Regions from separate parts of the Homo sapiens genome. Here region 1 is linked to region 2. The links are contacts of gene promoters, found by promoter capture Hi-C in blood cells and fetal thymus (Javierre and others, 2016). All regions are on one chromosome and are shown on one strand. Each heading gives the region's core, a stretch centred on a gene start or on the middle of the fragment in contact. The rest is flanking DNA. Distances are from core to core; before and after follow the strand shown.

Region 1 (6,614 bases), core at 326-2,825, 630 kb after region 2:
TTTAATTAATAACTCCCATTTCACTAGGTTTATTTGCCTTGTCTGCCAGTTCTCTATATGGTTACTAAAATGTGTGGTTTTACAAAATTATTAGCATGGAGTTAAGATTTCAGTACTCAGTGTGGCTCATTAAGTGATGGTGAAAATTTCTAAAAGAGTAGTTCTTAAAACGATATGAGCCATGGCAGCATTCTTAGAATGTATGTAGCTTCTAATACTACCTGAAATGAAAACACTGATTTGCATTGATACTAAATTCTGAGATATTTGTTTTTAAAAAAGCCTCACTGCTTTAACTCAAATCTTTGTAAATTAGCTGAGGTCTTTATTTTTTATATGAATAGCTGTGAGGAGCCAGATTATATATAATGTAAAAATACACACTGAGGCAGGCGCGGTGGCTCACGCCTGTAATCCCAGCACTTTGGGAGGACGAGGCGGGCGGATCACCTGAGGTCCAGGAGTTCGAGACCAGCCTGGCCAACATGGTGAAACCCCGTCTCTACTAAAATACAAAAATTAACCAGGCGTGGTGGCGAGCACCTGTAATCCCAGCTACTCGGGAGGCTGAGGCAGGAGAATCGCTTGAACCTGGGAGGTGGAGGTTGCAGTGAGCCGAGATCGCGGCCACTGCACTCCAGCCTGAGCAACAAGAGCGAAATTCCATCTCAAAAAAAAAAAAACAAAAAACTGTACGATTATGGTTTAAAAAAGAAAGAAAGAAACCACACTGAAAACAGTAATTCGTTTGCCAAATGAGCTCAGTTAGGTTAGCACCTTAGCAAGACCCTTTGGGACCAAGTGGCCTCTAAGCACTTAGGTAGCAGTATCTTTTTTTTTTTTTTTTTTTCAGACTTTTGCTTTTCTAAAATTACAAAGGTGTAGTGTGTCTGCTGTTACAGGATGGAAAAATGCATCATAGGAGGTTAGAAGCTTGTTGGCCTCAGTCATAAAGGGATAAGAAAAATGAGAATTAGGCATAGGGCAGGAAGGACCTCACTCCTCCCAACGCTTTCATTTCTAAATAATGCTTAAGGAAACCATGCCAGGGTTAGTAAAAGAGTAGAGGCACAACCACGGTAAGTGGGCATTGGGGAAAGAGGAAGGAGGGCAGGACATGGGGATAAAGCGGTTTCTTAACTGCGCGTGCGCCCCTGGCAAAGCTGACTAAGGCGCCTGAAGTGACGTCATTGCCTGCATCACAACAGGCGTCGTCCGGCTGATAGCTTATCGCAGGCTCTGAGGGGCGGGACCCAACTGATTGTCAAAGGCGGCAGATTGTAGTTTTTGTTTTGGCCGGAAAGGCTTACCATGAGTTGCCAGGGCTGAGAGAGATGGAGAAGGATTCGCGGCGGTGACAGATTAAATTCCCCAGTTACATTATAGACTTGGAGGTGGGGGATCTTCTCATCGTTAGAGGCCCCGATCATGGGAGATAGGCGGTTCGGAGCCAGTTCTGCCTAACTTTGTGTTCACTGATGTTAGGGCTGCTAGGGCTGCAAAGGTGGGCACCCCTACTCGCCTAAGAGCTTTCTCCTCTCTTCTCTTTTTCCCCTTTGCCTCTCTCCTTACATCACCTGCCCACTAAGTAGACTTGTCCTTGTGTGGACGGGAGCCGGAAAGCCTTGAGAACTTATTCCTCGACCCGGACATGGCACAGGAGAAAATGAAACTAGGTTTCAAGTCGCTGCCGAGTTCCACTACCGCAGACGGCAACATTCTGAGAAGAGTCAACAGTGCCCCTTTGATCAATGGACTTGGGTGAGCCGGGTTGAGATACTGGAGGAGGCAAGCGGTGGGGAGGAGGTGTTCGGGAAAGTGATTTCCTATAGAATTCCCGTCCCTTTATTTGTTGAGGTTCTGCAGGTAACTCCCTTGTTCCTGGTGTCCGGAGATCCCACCCTCAACCTTGGGTGGGGGTAGTGGGACGGGCTGACCTGAGGGGGAGCGCGCACCCACCCTGAGGTTGACAAACATCTGAATCTGAACATCCTCCCCTGATAGTCCACTCGGACCCGAAAGTAGCAGCCAGTTGGTGTGGAGCACGGCTTTTTTCTAACTTCAACCCATTTCTTACCCACTCCTTTGAAGAAACTTAGTATCCTCCCCCACTCACCTCCAGATCTTCTGCCATGACTGTAATATTTGTCATTTCAGCTGCTTTGTCACCTCTGACCTTCACCTCCAGCCGCTTGAATGGAAATGGTTGTCAAGCAAATAAGCTTTGGACTTTTTTACATTTTTTTTTTTGTCTTTTTTTGAGACGGAGTCTTGCTCTGTCGCCCAGGCTGGAGTGCATTGGCACGATCTCAGCTTACTGTAACCTCCGCCTCCTGGCTTCAAGCAATTCTCATGCCTCAGCCTCCCTAGTAGCTAGGATTACAGGCGCCCACCACCACACCTGGTAATTTTTTGTATTTTTATTTTTTATTTATTTGTTTATTTATTTTTGAGACGGAGTCTCACTCTGTCGCCCAGGCTGGAGTGCAGTGGCGTGATCTCGGCTCACTGCAAGCTCCACCTCCCGGGTTCACGCCATTCTCCTGACTCAGCCTCCCAAGTAGCTGGGACTACAGGCGCCCACCAACACTCCCGGCTAATTTTTTGTATTTTTAGTAGAGACAGGGTTTCACCGTGTTAGTCAGGATGGTCTTGATCTCCTGACCTCGTGATCCGCCCGCCTCGGCCTCCCAAAGTGCTGGGATTACAGGCGTAAGCCACCGTGCCCGGCCTAATTTTTTGTATTTTTAGTAGAGACAGGGTTTCACCATGTTGGCCAGGCTGGTCTCGAACTCCTGGCCTCAGGGGATCCGCCTGCCTCAGCCTCCCAAAGTGCTGGTATTACAGACGTGAGCCACTGCTCCTGGCCTACACCTATTTTTTATTGGAGCAGAAAGTTTTGGTACCACAGAAGCTTGATCTCCTAAATTACACATTCTCACTGGGTGATACTTCCCCCAAGGGGAAGAGAAAATAGTTCTTGGGGGAGTGTGAAAAATTTTTACTCTTTTTATGTATAAAGCGCAGATATACATACAGTATGTACACAGATATATACTATATATGTGTTATTAAAATTTCACGAAGGGGGAGCAATTAGGGGAAAAATGTCTAAAAAGGCTTTTTAGAGGGTCAATAATGAAAAAAGGATTTAGAAACACTACACTAAATGATGGTTAACTGTATTTCTGAAGATCTGGGATTACTAAATCTTGTTTCCTTTTTTTTTTTTTTTTAAGACGGAGTCTCACTGTGTCGCCCAGGCTGGAGTGCAGTGGCATGATCTCGGCTCACTGCAACCTCTGCCTCCCGGGTTCAAGCGATTCTCCTGCCTCAGACTCCCGAGTAGCTGGGACTTCAGGCACCCGCCACCACGCCCACCTAATTTTTTGTATTTTTAGTAGAGACGGGGTTTCACCGTGTTAGCCAGGATGGTCTTGATCTCCTGACCTTGTGATCCGCCCACCTTGGCCTCCCAAAGTGTTGGGATTACAGGCGTGAGCCACTGCGCCTGGCCTAAATCTTACTTCTTAAACTAGACTTTTAAAATGAGATGTTGGATTTCACATTTCAGTATTATAAGGTTTTCTAGATACCGTAAAAATGTCTGAAAAATGCATTCACTACATATGTTACTAACTTTGCTCTTCACCTTTTGTTGCATCATACTAATTGATAGTTGTAATTCACAGTACCATAGACTATCAGGAAGGGATTCAGAGACCAGCTTTACCCTCCTTGTTTAACATATGAGGAAACTGAGGCCCATAAATCTCCAAAATGACGTTTAGTGGCAGAGCCAGTACTAGGAAGCTCTGTTTCCTGACTCCTAAACTACTGTTCTGGCCACTACTAACCAATACCTAAGCTGATTAACTCTAAATGAATGCAGCTTTTGGGTCATTTGAGGTAGGAGAGAATATATTGTTCACAAAATGAAAAGCAAACTAAGATTGACCAAAAAAAAATACATTACCTTTTTAAAATAGGCAGGTAGAAAAACATAGAAGGGGGACTCTGCATGTTGTGCTGAGAACAAGAACATTTTATTCACTCAGGATTTTGCTCTAATTCTGTTGTGGGAAAAAGGAATTATGGGACCCACTCTACTAGTAGAAGAGAGCAGTAGGGAGAATGTTGGATTTATTGAAGACAATATAAAAAGAAGAAATAGGTTGCAAATAGACGATGGAAGATGTGTACTGGAAGGAACCTGTGGATCCTCTTTAATGTATTAAATACACCAGAGAAGGAGTGGACCCTTCCCTAATCCTTAAAGCCCTGGAAACAGAGAGATCTCAGTTATCCCTTCATACCTTGCTTTGTTCTGCAAAGGATTTTTTTGTTTTGTTTGTTTGTTTTTTGCTTATATTAGAGCATAGCTACAGTGTTACATTCCATAGCTTAAGATCCTGATGCATGAAGTAAAATTTGTACAGAAAGATAAGGGTCACTAGCATATTTCTGTAGTAGGAGTTTAAAGATACAGAAACCACAAAGTGGACGGAGTCCAGGGACTCTAGTCTGTCAGAAAGAAGTAACATAGGAATGATGTGTGACATCCCTGAGATTAGGGGACTTGCCCAGATGATCTGAGGGCATATTTTGTGCTGTTGTAGAAAATGTAGGGCATAGTCAGAGAAGTTATTCTGAAGCAAGAAAAATTTAGAGTAGGATTACACTGAGCCTTAGTTGAATTCATTTTCACCTCAGTTCTCATTTGCATATGTATACTGCTCACTTTTCTCCCTTTTTTTTTCCTTCCTTGGCCCTCTAATACTTGAGTACTTCCTCTTTCTAAACTATACCTGGCCAGTAAAGCATTCTTTTCAGAAAGGTGAAAGTCACTAGCATATTTCTTTAGTAGGAATTAAAGATATAGAAACCACAAAGTGGACAGAGTTCAGAGACTCCAGTCCCTCAGAAAGAAGTAACATAGGAATGATGTGTGACATGCCTGAGGTCAGGGAACTTGCCCAAATGATCTGAGGGGATGTTTTGTGCTGTTGTAGAAAATATTTAGCTTGCTAAACATTGTTGCACCTCTTTCAAGTAATTTTCGAACTTTGCTTGATGTTTCTTCTATATAAAGACCCTCTTGCACCAGCATTTGCAGAATTAAATTCCTTAGGTTTGTTTCTTTCATATCAACTCTTTAATACAGTATTACTGTTTTAAAGAAGTATCTGCACTGTTTTATGTATATCTTGAACTAATAAAAATTCCAACGTCAAAAGTTTTGAACCTCTTGGTTCTTTATACTCTTTATCTCTGTAATTGGCTGACTTTATTACTGGTGTCAATAACTATACTTAAAGCTAGGAGTTTTTTCTTCTCTTTCTCTGACCCTTATTCAAAGACTCAGAGATTAGGTTCTTGTATTCCTGCCAGTGCCTCCCTACCTTAAAAACCTCTACCTTGACCCTGCATTTAAACTGTTACTGCCTCAATTCTTTTTTTTTTTTTTCCTGAGATGGAGTCTTGAGGCTGGAGTGCAGTGGTTCAATCTCGGCTCACTGCAACCTCTGCCTCCTGGGCTCAAGCGATTCTCCTGCCTCAGCCTCCGAGTAGCTGGGACTACAGGCATGCACCACCACGCCAGGCTAATTTTTGTATTTTTAGTAGAGACGGGTTTCACTATGTTGGCCAGGCTAATTTTTGTATTTTTAGTAGAGATGGGTTTCACTATGTTGGCCAGGCTAGTCTTGAACCCTTGACCTTGTGATCCACCCACCTTGGCCTCCCAAAGTGCTGGGATTACAGGCGTGAGCCACCACTCCTGACCCTCAATTCTATTTGAAAGGCAAATTACTGCCCCAGAGCCAAATGCAGCCCACCACCTGGATTTGCAAATAAAATTTTATTGGAATGGAACCATCCCCATTTGTTTAGTTGTTATCTATGGCTACTTTCCCACTGCAGTGGCAGAACTGAGGAGTTGCAACAGATACTGTATGGCCCACAAATCCTAAAATATTTACTCTCTGGCCCTTCGCAGAAAAAGTTTGCCCATCTTCTGGTTTATTGAACTTTTACGAACGTGGAAGAATAGCAGCCATGAGAAATGATTGCTTTGGGAATATAAGTGACATAAATCTATTATAGTTTAGACAGAGCTGTTTATTGATCATTTGATGTGGAACATTGAACATCCATCCAGTTATACTACTTCTGCTTTTTCCGAGTTAAAAGTAGCACTTAGTTCAGATATCAGCTAGGGTTTTATAAATTCATGTTGAATGATGCATACCAGTTGAAGTATATATTGCCTGAATTCTTTCTTTCAGTTATAGTCTTACTAAAATTGGCAAACAAATTTAGGGTAGACTATATCATTGTCAGCCCTAAGTATTAAGCCCCCTACACATGTACACAAAAAAGAATGGAAAGAAATAGCCCATTAGTGTCCCTCCAATTTTCTTATGAGTGACTGCCAGAACATATTCCTATTCTCACAAAGAAAATGACTGGGAAAGTAAGTAGAATTAGATACATCCATATACCTTCCATTCACAAAATATTAAGTTACTGCCTGTTATATGCAAATTATGATGTTGCAAAGATGTATCTCAGGGCTCAATAAGCTTTAATAGGGAATATAAATACTAGAAGGA
Region 2 (7,523 bases), core at 3,858-6,357:
CAAATATTGTCAGGGTAATAAAATTCCTAAAATTAGGCATCTTGGTGCTTTATGTAGATGCAAACTTGAAAAGCAGCTATGTCCAAGTTTTCCTTTAGGATCCTCCCAAGAGATATTTTACAAACTCCTCTAGCATTGCTAATTATTTTTTTTAAAAAAAAAAGAGTCATTTTTTCAGATCTATAAATTTCATTTATTTTGAGGTTCATTCACATTCAGTAACAATCTGATCATTCACCAAAGTTCCAAAACACATACTTTATAAATTAGCTATCATAGTTTTTAGAAATCCAAATATATTTCAAATTATTTTTTAATAGCAGCAACTAGAGAAAGGATTTTTTACCATCTAGCTTACTGTAGCGCTGATCAGGAATGTCGCCAACAAAGGTCCTGCGGTTTACAGATGGATACCGTGCAATTTTTCTCCTATGATACTCATCAAAATTGCATCGTGATCCACCCGACAACAGCAAAACAGATCATTTTACAATGACTAAATATCAGAACTTACGGCTTTTAAAAGTTAAAATAAGAAGACGATAAAAATCCTCCTTTCTTCCACAGGCCGGGACAAGTGCAATACTTTATATAGAACACAAGTAATGCAACAAATCCCCACCCAGGGATGAATGGGCATGAGTGCTGGAGATACGCATGAAGGTGTGTTCACACAGACGTAGGAAGCACACATTATCACAATCAGTTTTGCATGGATTTGCACAGCCACATATACATATATACGCTGAAATGCAAACCTGCAAAACTAATTGTAAGTAGCAATGTCTTTGAATATTCTCTCCATCAACAAGAGATTTGTTATCCAAGAGTACTGGAAGTGCCCATACTACAGTAGAGTCATGCCAAAACTACCTGCACTATGAGCACTTTGGTACTACTAGGACCCAATCTTATCCTCTGTACACAACTGTACACTGCACAGTCCCCACCATCTGTTCCCAACAAACAATAAAAAGGCAAAAAACAAACCACTGAAATGTGTCCTATTCAAATTACTACTCAAGGCATACTTTTAAAATGCTGTATATTAGGCAGCCTGTGCCAGAAGGGGCATTTAGGGCAGTAGATTCTAAGCTGCTTCACTAACTGCACTAGATGCACCTTAACACAAGAGACACATTATAAGAAGCAGCTCAAAAGCATCAACTACTTAATTATGCACAAACTACAGTTCTCAGTAGCCATTGACTAAATCACCATGGTAATGTAAGAAGTGCTTACATTGCAGTAGATCTCAAAAAGCTACCTGCACTGTAAGCACTTTTACATGGCCAAGGCCTATTCCTGTAGCAAAATTTTAAGTCTTCCAGGAGCTCTTCTTTTCCGTCCTCACAGATCCATGCAGACTCACCTGGTTAAAACAACAAAACAAACACACACATATTAGAAACTAAACAAGTAAACTACTAGTTAATATTCCTGAAACAGGCTTTCCTTTGGCTTACAGAGTCTAAGCTAGGTTTTGTGGTTTCAACCAAATCCTGAGAAATATTAATAATCTCAATTATTTACACAGAATTGAACACGAATAACACTGGCAACTGCAAAAAGTCCAATTCTTATGTATAAGCAGATTTTGGACTCCCCCTCTCCATCTAAGAAAATTTGATATCTGCATCTCAGTAATTTGCAGGCACATTCTATCCACCCTGATTTTATAAGAGGAGGACCTAGAGAAAGGAGCATGTAAAACCCAGGATGAGTATTCGAGTCTTCAGATCATTCAGAGCTTTTGGGCTCCATACGGAAAGTGACTGTTAGATTAAATGAATATTCCCAGCCCCCACCCCATTAATAGAAAATGAGAGAAATTTTAGAGCTGGTTTAAGAAACACAGCCTTACAGTCTTCACATAATGCACAGATGGCTGAGAGATGTCACATTTTGATCTATTTCAAAGGGCTCTACTTCTGTTTAAACATTTATGGACCCATTTTCTCCATTAAACCAAAGTAGGCAGATTAGCTCTTCTTCCCTTCATGTCATTATCTTCCATAAGAAAACCTTCTCCCATTTCCAAGTGCTTATTTTACCTAAGAACATACAGCAAGGAAGTGAGCCTCTATGTGAAAAAGGCTCACAGGGTCCCCTATCTCTTCCATGATGGGGTAACTTTTGTTTAAAAGAAAAACAAAAACGTTTGGGACAGAATCTGTAATACGTTAAACGAGTGAGGGAATTTTAAATGTTGAACTTTCGTCACGATATCTTATGCCACTAAATGAGTCTTTAGAAGTCTTTACAAACTAAACTGATTTATAAAACTTATACATCAATCTGGAATCAATTTTCTATTAGGGAAGAATGGATTTAGTATAGAAATGAGAAAAATAACATTTTTCCCCTTAAATTGGGTTTCTACACCTGTGAAGATTTCTTTTCCATTAAAAAAAAAATACTCCAAACTTGACTCAAAATGCATAGTATTTGCCAACCCAACCTGGCCAAACTGAGCCCCACAGCCATCAGACAGGGCGCCCTTCTAGTTACTACCTTTTGCTAATTAGCGGTTCATCTGGCATCCCTCGCGCACGCTGGGCAGTCACTCTCCAATCCCCTTAAATTGCAAATAATAATAATAATAATAAGGAAAAGAAAGAAAGAAGTCCTTCCCTGTACGCCTTTGTGGCTCCCTTTTGCCTCTTCCCGCGTCTCTCACACCCTTACCTAATGCTCCCGTTGAAGTCCGCGAGCAGCCCGCGCGTCCAGGGTGTGCTCCAGCTGCTCACACCACGCGCTCCAGTCCTCGTGCAGCCTCAGCCGCCGCCGAAATTAAAGAGAAAGAAACAAAGCATCATGGGAAACGGAGTTCTCCATTCAAAGCACCAAAAACGCGCCAAGCCCACGCCTCCCTCCCCCTCCATTCCCGGGTTGGTGGGATAGAAGCCAAGAGGGAGGGGAGTCCCTTTTTTCCCTCCACGTGCACCCCCTCATTTCACACCCTCACCACCAAAGTTTTCCAGGAACCTAAAGGTCAACGGTGGAGAAGAAAAGGGGAGTCGTTTCCCGCGCGCTGCCCGCTACCCCTCAACCGCACTCTGGTACTTTGCTTTTCTCAAGTCCCGCCCGCTCCGTCCCCTCCCACCCAACCAGTCAACTCTACCGGATCACAGCTGCCCCAACGAAGGGCTCCCTTCTTGCCCAGCCACCCGCTCGGGAAACCGCGCGCGGGACCCAGCTCCGGCCCGCCCCTCGCAGGTGGAGAGCGCGGGGATCCCGCACGGGCCGCCCTCTCCGGGTGTCCCCTCCACACGTATACCCAGTGTCCCAGCGCGCAGCTCGAGCGCTCCGGGGCCGGGTGCGAGCGCAGTCTCCCGCGGAGCCAGAAGGGGAAGAGAAGTGAGAAAAAGCGTCCACTAAATGGATCAAGGCCGCGAGCGCACATCTCACCCCAAAGCGCCCCTGTCCAGAGCGACGCGGGGCCACGAGCCTCCCTGCCACCACTTGAGGAGCGCTCCGTCCCCTTGGCCCTCTGTCCGTAGCTATATCCCTGGGAAAAGCCCGCCCCTCTGCCTTTAATAGCCCAAGGAAAAAAGCCCGCCCCCGCCCACCCGGCCCGCACAGGAATTAGGAAACGGAACCCCCACCCCGCCAAAGCGAAAACCCCACCGAGCCCCAGTTACCCACGGGCGGACCGCAGTCGGCATTTTCCCTTCTCTCTTCCCCCAAGCTGGAGTCCTTAATTAAAGGCGCGCCTGGGACAGCGGCCCAGGCAGAGGCCGTGGCCGGAGCCGGTGCGGGTGCCACCGGCATCCGGGCCAGGATGGCGCACTCACTACCACCTTGTCCCATCTCGCTCCCGCGGCGCTCGCCTCAGCCCCCCACCGGAGACAGACGACGAGGCCCACGGAGCCGTGGGACAGGGGTGTCCCCCACCCGGCGCGCGCATGCGCGCCACCTCGCCGCTAGATTGAAAGTGTTCCTAAGGCCCGAGGAGGGAAGAAATAGAAACACGACTTACTCTCTGCACATGTGAAAGTTTTAACCCCTAGCACCTTGTGCTACTGTTGGGAGGCTTTCGCCCTTGCCAGGCGCCCTCTTCACCCACTAAATCAGGGTTTCTTGGCAGGTATCGTTAACGGTAGCAGCCACCGAATACACGCGCAAATGTGCGGAAGATACGGTGCAATTATCTTGCTTTCTCCTCTCATTCCACCGCTAATGAGAACCAATTGAGGGCGGGCTGCTTCAAGGCCAAAGCCCGACAGCGCTCTGTAGAATAAAATGATGTCTTAGTTTAAGACGCACAATCAAAATGGAATTAAGCATACCAGACTTTGAACACCGGGCAAAATGAGAGACAACCGGGCTATATACCTTCTCCGCGTCCCTGGCGGACACAGGCGCAAGATGGGATTTGGGGAGCGTGCGGGGGTTGGGGGGGTGGGCGGGGGTGTGCAGGGTACGAGGTTACAAATCAGAGACCAGTGAGCACGCTGGGTCGGAGGAGGAAAGCCCTGGAAGGCAAGCGGGGGGCAAGGAAGGAGGGAAGGGGTGCAAAATGAAGCCGGACCCCTCCCTTTCCACCATTGTTACCAGGGTGATTGTGGCAGCCCAAAGCCCAGAAGAGGACAAGGGCGCCATGTGATTCTCAACCTGGTGCACTGGTGCACAGTAGTAGCTCAGGCAAACATTACAAAAGACTGGCCTCTCCCGCCCCTGGCCCGCGAAAGAGTCCAACCTGAACTGCCAGCGCCCCTCAGGAGTCAGCGGTGGATGCAACGAAAACCACAATCATTTCTCCAACGCGAGTCACTCGCACAGGTGGGCTTCCTCCCCTTTTTCATGCAACAGACCTTGCAGCCTACCCTGGCACGTCTGCGTGATACTTTCTGGAAACTACGCAGCCCGAAGTTTACTACCCAACCAGATCCCTCCTGTGAGATTGCACCGACTGCAATGCAACTTTCGACCTTTAATGGTAACGACTAGCAGTGGAAAGAAGAGGAGGGGGAGGGAAGAGAACTTAGACCCGACTTTAAGAAGCGTTGTATTAAAGCAAGATAAGAACAGTACCTTTGAGCTGGAGCAAAACCTGGAGTAAAAAAAAGGGTTTTTGCGAAAGTGGCGCGAAGATAATATCATGTGATCCGACCCCAGGGCGTCTCCTTCCCCTTTTGCCAAACTCCCCTCCCCTCGAAAAAAGGGGGGTTGGGGGAGCTACATCCGCTCCTCACAAACTATTAGCATAATTAATTGTGTCCTACAGCTGCAGCCAGAGCTCCCGGGTCAATGAGTAAACATATCCTCATCCTCTTCAACATCAGAACAAAAAAACCCATTACCCTGATTTTGGAAAATGTTCCCAAATAAATCTCATTATCTTCAAAAGTCTTTATTTGGTATTCGGAGTCTATGTGTCTTGGTTGGAGAGACAGAAGAAGGTTGGAAAAGATGAAATCATCCTATTAAAGGGAACAAGTAGAAGTAACTCCCCAAGAGTGACATATTTAAGTAAAGGTTTTCAAATGGAAATACCGTGTTGAGGGACTTCACTAGCTTAAAATTTTCCAAAAGTTTTAGCAGTTCATTAAACAAGACATCCTCCCAGTCTTCCTATTCGCCACCCCCCATCTCCCACCCCTCCTCCCAGTCCTCCTTCCCTTTAAAGCTAGAACAATACCCGGAATAAGGTATTTTGAGATTGCTTTACCAGGATATTTTCTTGTTCTTAATTTTTTTTAAGGGTTTGCAACATATAGAATGTCTGGATCAAGTTCCCAACTGGCGAAAATAATTTATTCCATCTCAGTACCTGTCTAGCACAAGGTAAAACTAACTAAGTACAAGATATAGGTTATGAGAAACTAGGACATTTTGATACACCAAATGATTTATTTTTGTCTCTTTCTTTTGGAAAAAAAATTTAATCATCGGCCAAAATACCTAGAGAATCAAAAAAATCTAAAGAACAAAGCATTTCACACACACCCCCCCCAAAAGTCAGAATAACTAACAGCTCAAAGAAAAGCACGTGATCCCTTCATGCTTTAAAACTTGTGGTCATGCTGAGGCTAAAAGCAAAGAGCTTGTGACCCCGCAACCCCGTCCCCTCCCCCAGACCACAGCCCAGGGCTTAAGGCTCCAGGCTCCCACCGGGCTCCTGCTCGCTCCCAGTATTGTGAGACAAACAATACTTAGGCATTCTGCAAAATAAAGGAGCCACAACTCCTATCCCCCAGTCACATCATTTATGACCAAACAGACTGGCCGGTGTGCGTATATACGCATGTATGTAAATATGATATAGAATACATGCCTACACGAAAGCCCAGATGTTCTGTCAGAATGTGTAAGAAAGGTATGGAAACTGGCCAAAGGGAGGGAGAACTTGTTATCTTTCGTGAGCCTAAGGATTCTCATCACAACTTTAAATTCTTGACACTATTTTGAGTTTATGATGGATTCAAAGAAAAACGGTGAATGCCCAGCAAAATATTCCCCTCAAAATAGACCCACTTTGAGCTTTCCTCTGCCTTGAAAAGGGGTGAAGGGATTCTTCTGTATTGACCTCTAGATTTAATTATGCCATATAAAGCAGCAATCTCAAGTAGTTTGGATTTGAACACCTTTAAGAATAAAATTGACATTTTACCCAGTTGAGAAATCATGTTACTTGATTTAGAAATAATATTAAGTGGCTTTGTTAAACCTAATGATTGGTATCTTAGAACAAAAAGGTCCCCATGGAAACCAGAAAGTAATTTAAGAGTATTATGTTCCTCACACAACTAGAATAGAGCTTTTGTTCTATGTGTATTTACTACTCTACATTTTTGAACTACACTTGCAATTAAGGTCTGTTACACTCTGGTTTTGCCCAGGATGAGAAGTTTAGTGTCCCACTGAAATATGTGTTTTGCTACATTTGTGTGTTTATGTTCATGTGCTCATGTGCATGCCCATGAGGCCTAAAACAAAGCCAGCAGATCAGAACACTCACTAAACAGAATGGAGGCGGAAGATCCCAAACAAAATATTTCAAATGCTATTTTGCTATTTGATCCTAGAGCAGGAACTGTGATTTCATTAGAAGTCTATCAAAACTGGTCTTCACTAACTTTATTTTTTAAACGAAGTATTCCTTCATTTGCAAACATTTCATAGTTTTTAGATGAATCAATCTTCTTTTGAATGCCAATCATACTAACACAAATCAGCCTGAAAAAATGAAATTTGAATTTTTTGGACCAGGCCTTAATTTGTTTATGAAAATTTATGTCAGCAGAACAAAGAGAAAAATTAGAGTCAGTAATGAATTTCTGAATCTTATTTCTTTTCAATAGCATATGCCAACATAAATCATGTAAATAAAATAAATACATCTTCAACTAAATAGCGTCCATGAGAATGAAATATCAATTTCAAAAGATTTGCCACTTGATAAGAAGCAGAAAATTTCACTAATTGAACATGCACAGTTAATATAACTTAGTTTAAAAAATGTAGAAAGTAAAAATATACTTATCCCAATCTCAAAGGATTTTATGAAGACCAAATGG

Evidence for each region. Contacts are between HindIII fragments. The CHiCAGO score rates a contact against its expected background, and 5 or more counts as called.
Region 1: a fragment that was not itself captured here is called in contact with the fragment with the promoter of MIR106AHG in region 2 in 1 of 17 cell types (total B cells); the score reaches 6.5 in total B cells.

What each region holds. Positions count from the first base shown.
Region 1 is chrX:134,805,948-134,812,561 of GRCh38, forward strand. It overlaps PABIR3 (PABIR family member 3), which reads left to right and starts at 1,290. Exons shown (of 11, transcript NM_001388447.1): 1 at 1,290-1,394; 2 at 1,593-1,761. The coding sequence starts at 1,652. RefSeq lists enhancers at 1,647-1,806, 2,192-3,148 and a silencer at 4,684-4,753. The HindIII fragment of the contact is 1,289 bases long and covers 932-2,220 here.
Region 2 is chrX:134,168,981-134,176,503 of GRCh38, forward strand. It overlaps MIR106AHG (miR-106a-363 cluster host gene), which reads right to left and starts at 5,108. Exons shown (of 2, transcript XR_007068340.1): 1 at 2,689-5,108; 2 at 170-1,372. MIR363 (microRNA 363) reads right to left here and starts at 472; the gene lies at 398-472. MIR92A2 (microRNA 92a-2) reads right to left here and starts at 632; the gene lies at 558-632. It overlaps MIR19B2 (microRNA 19b-2), which reads right to left and starts at 786; the gene lies at 691-786. It also overlaps MIR20B, MIR18B and MIR106A. RefSeq lists an enhancer at 3,173-3,980 and a silencer at 5,939-6,233. The HindIII fragment of the contact is 10,100 bases long and covers 1-7,523 here.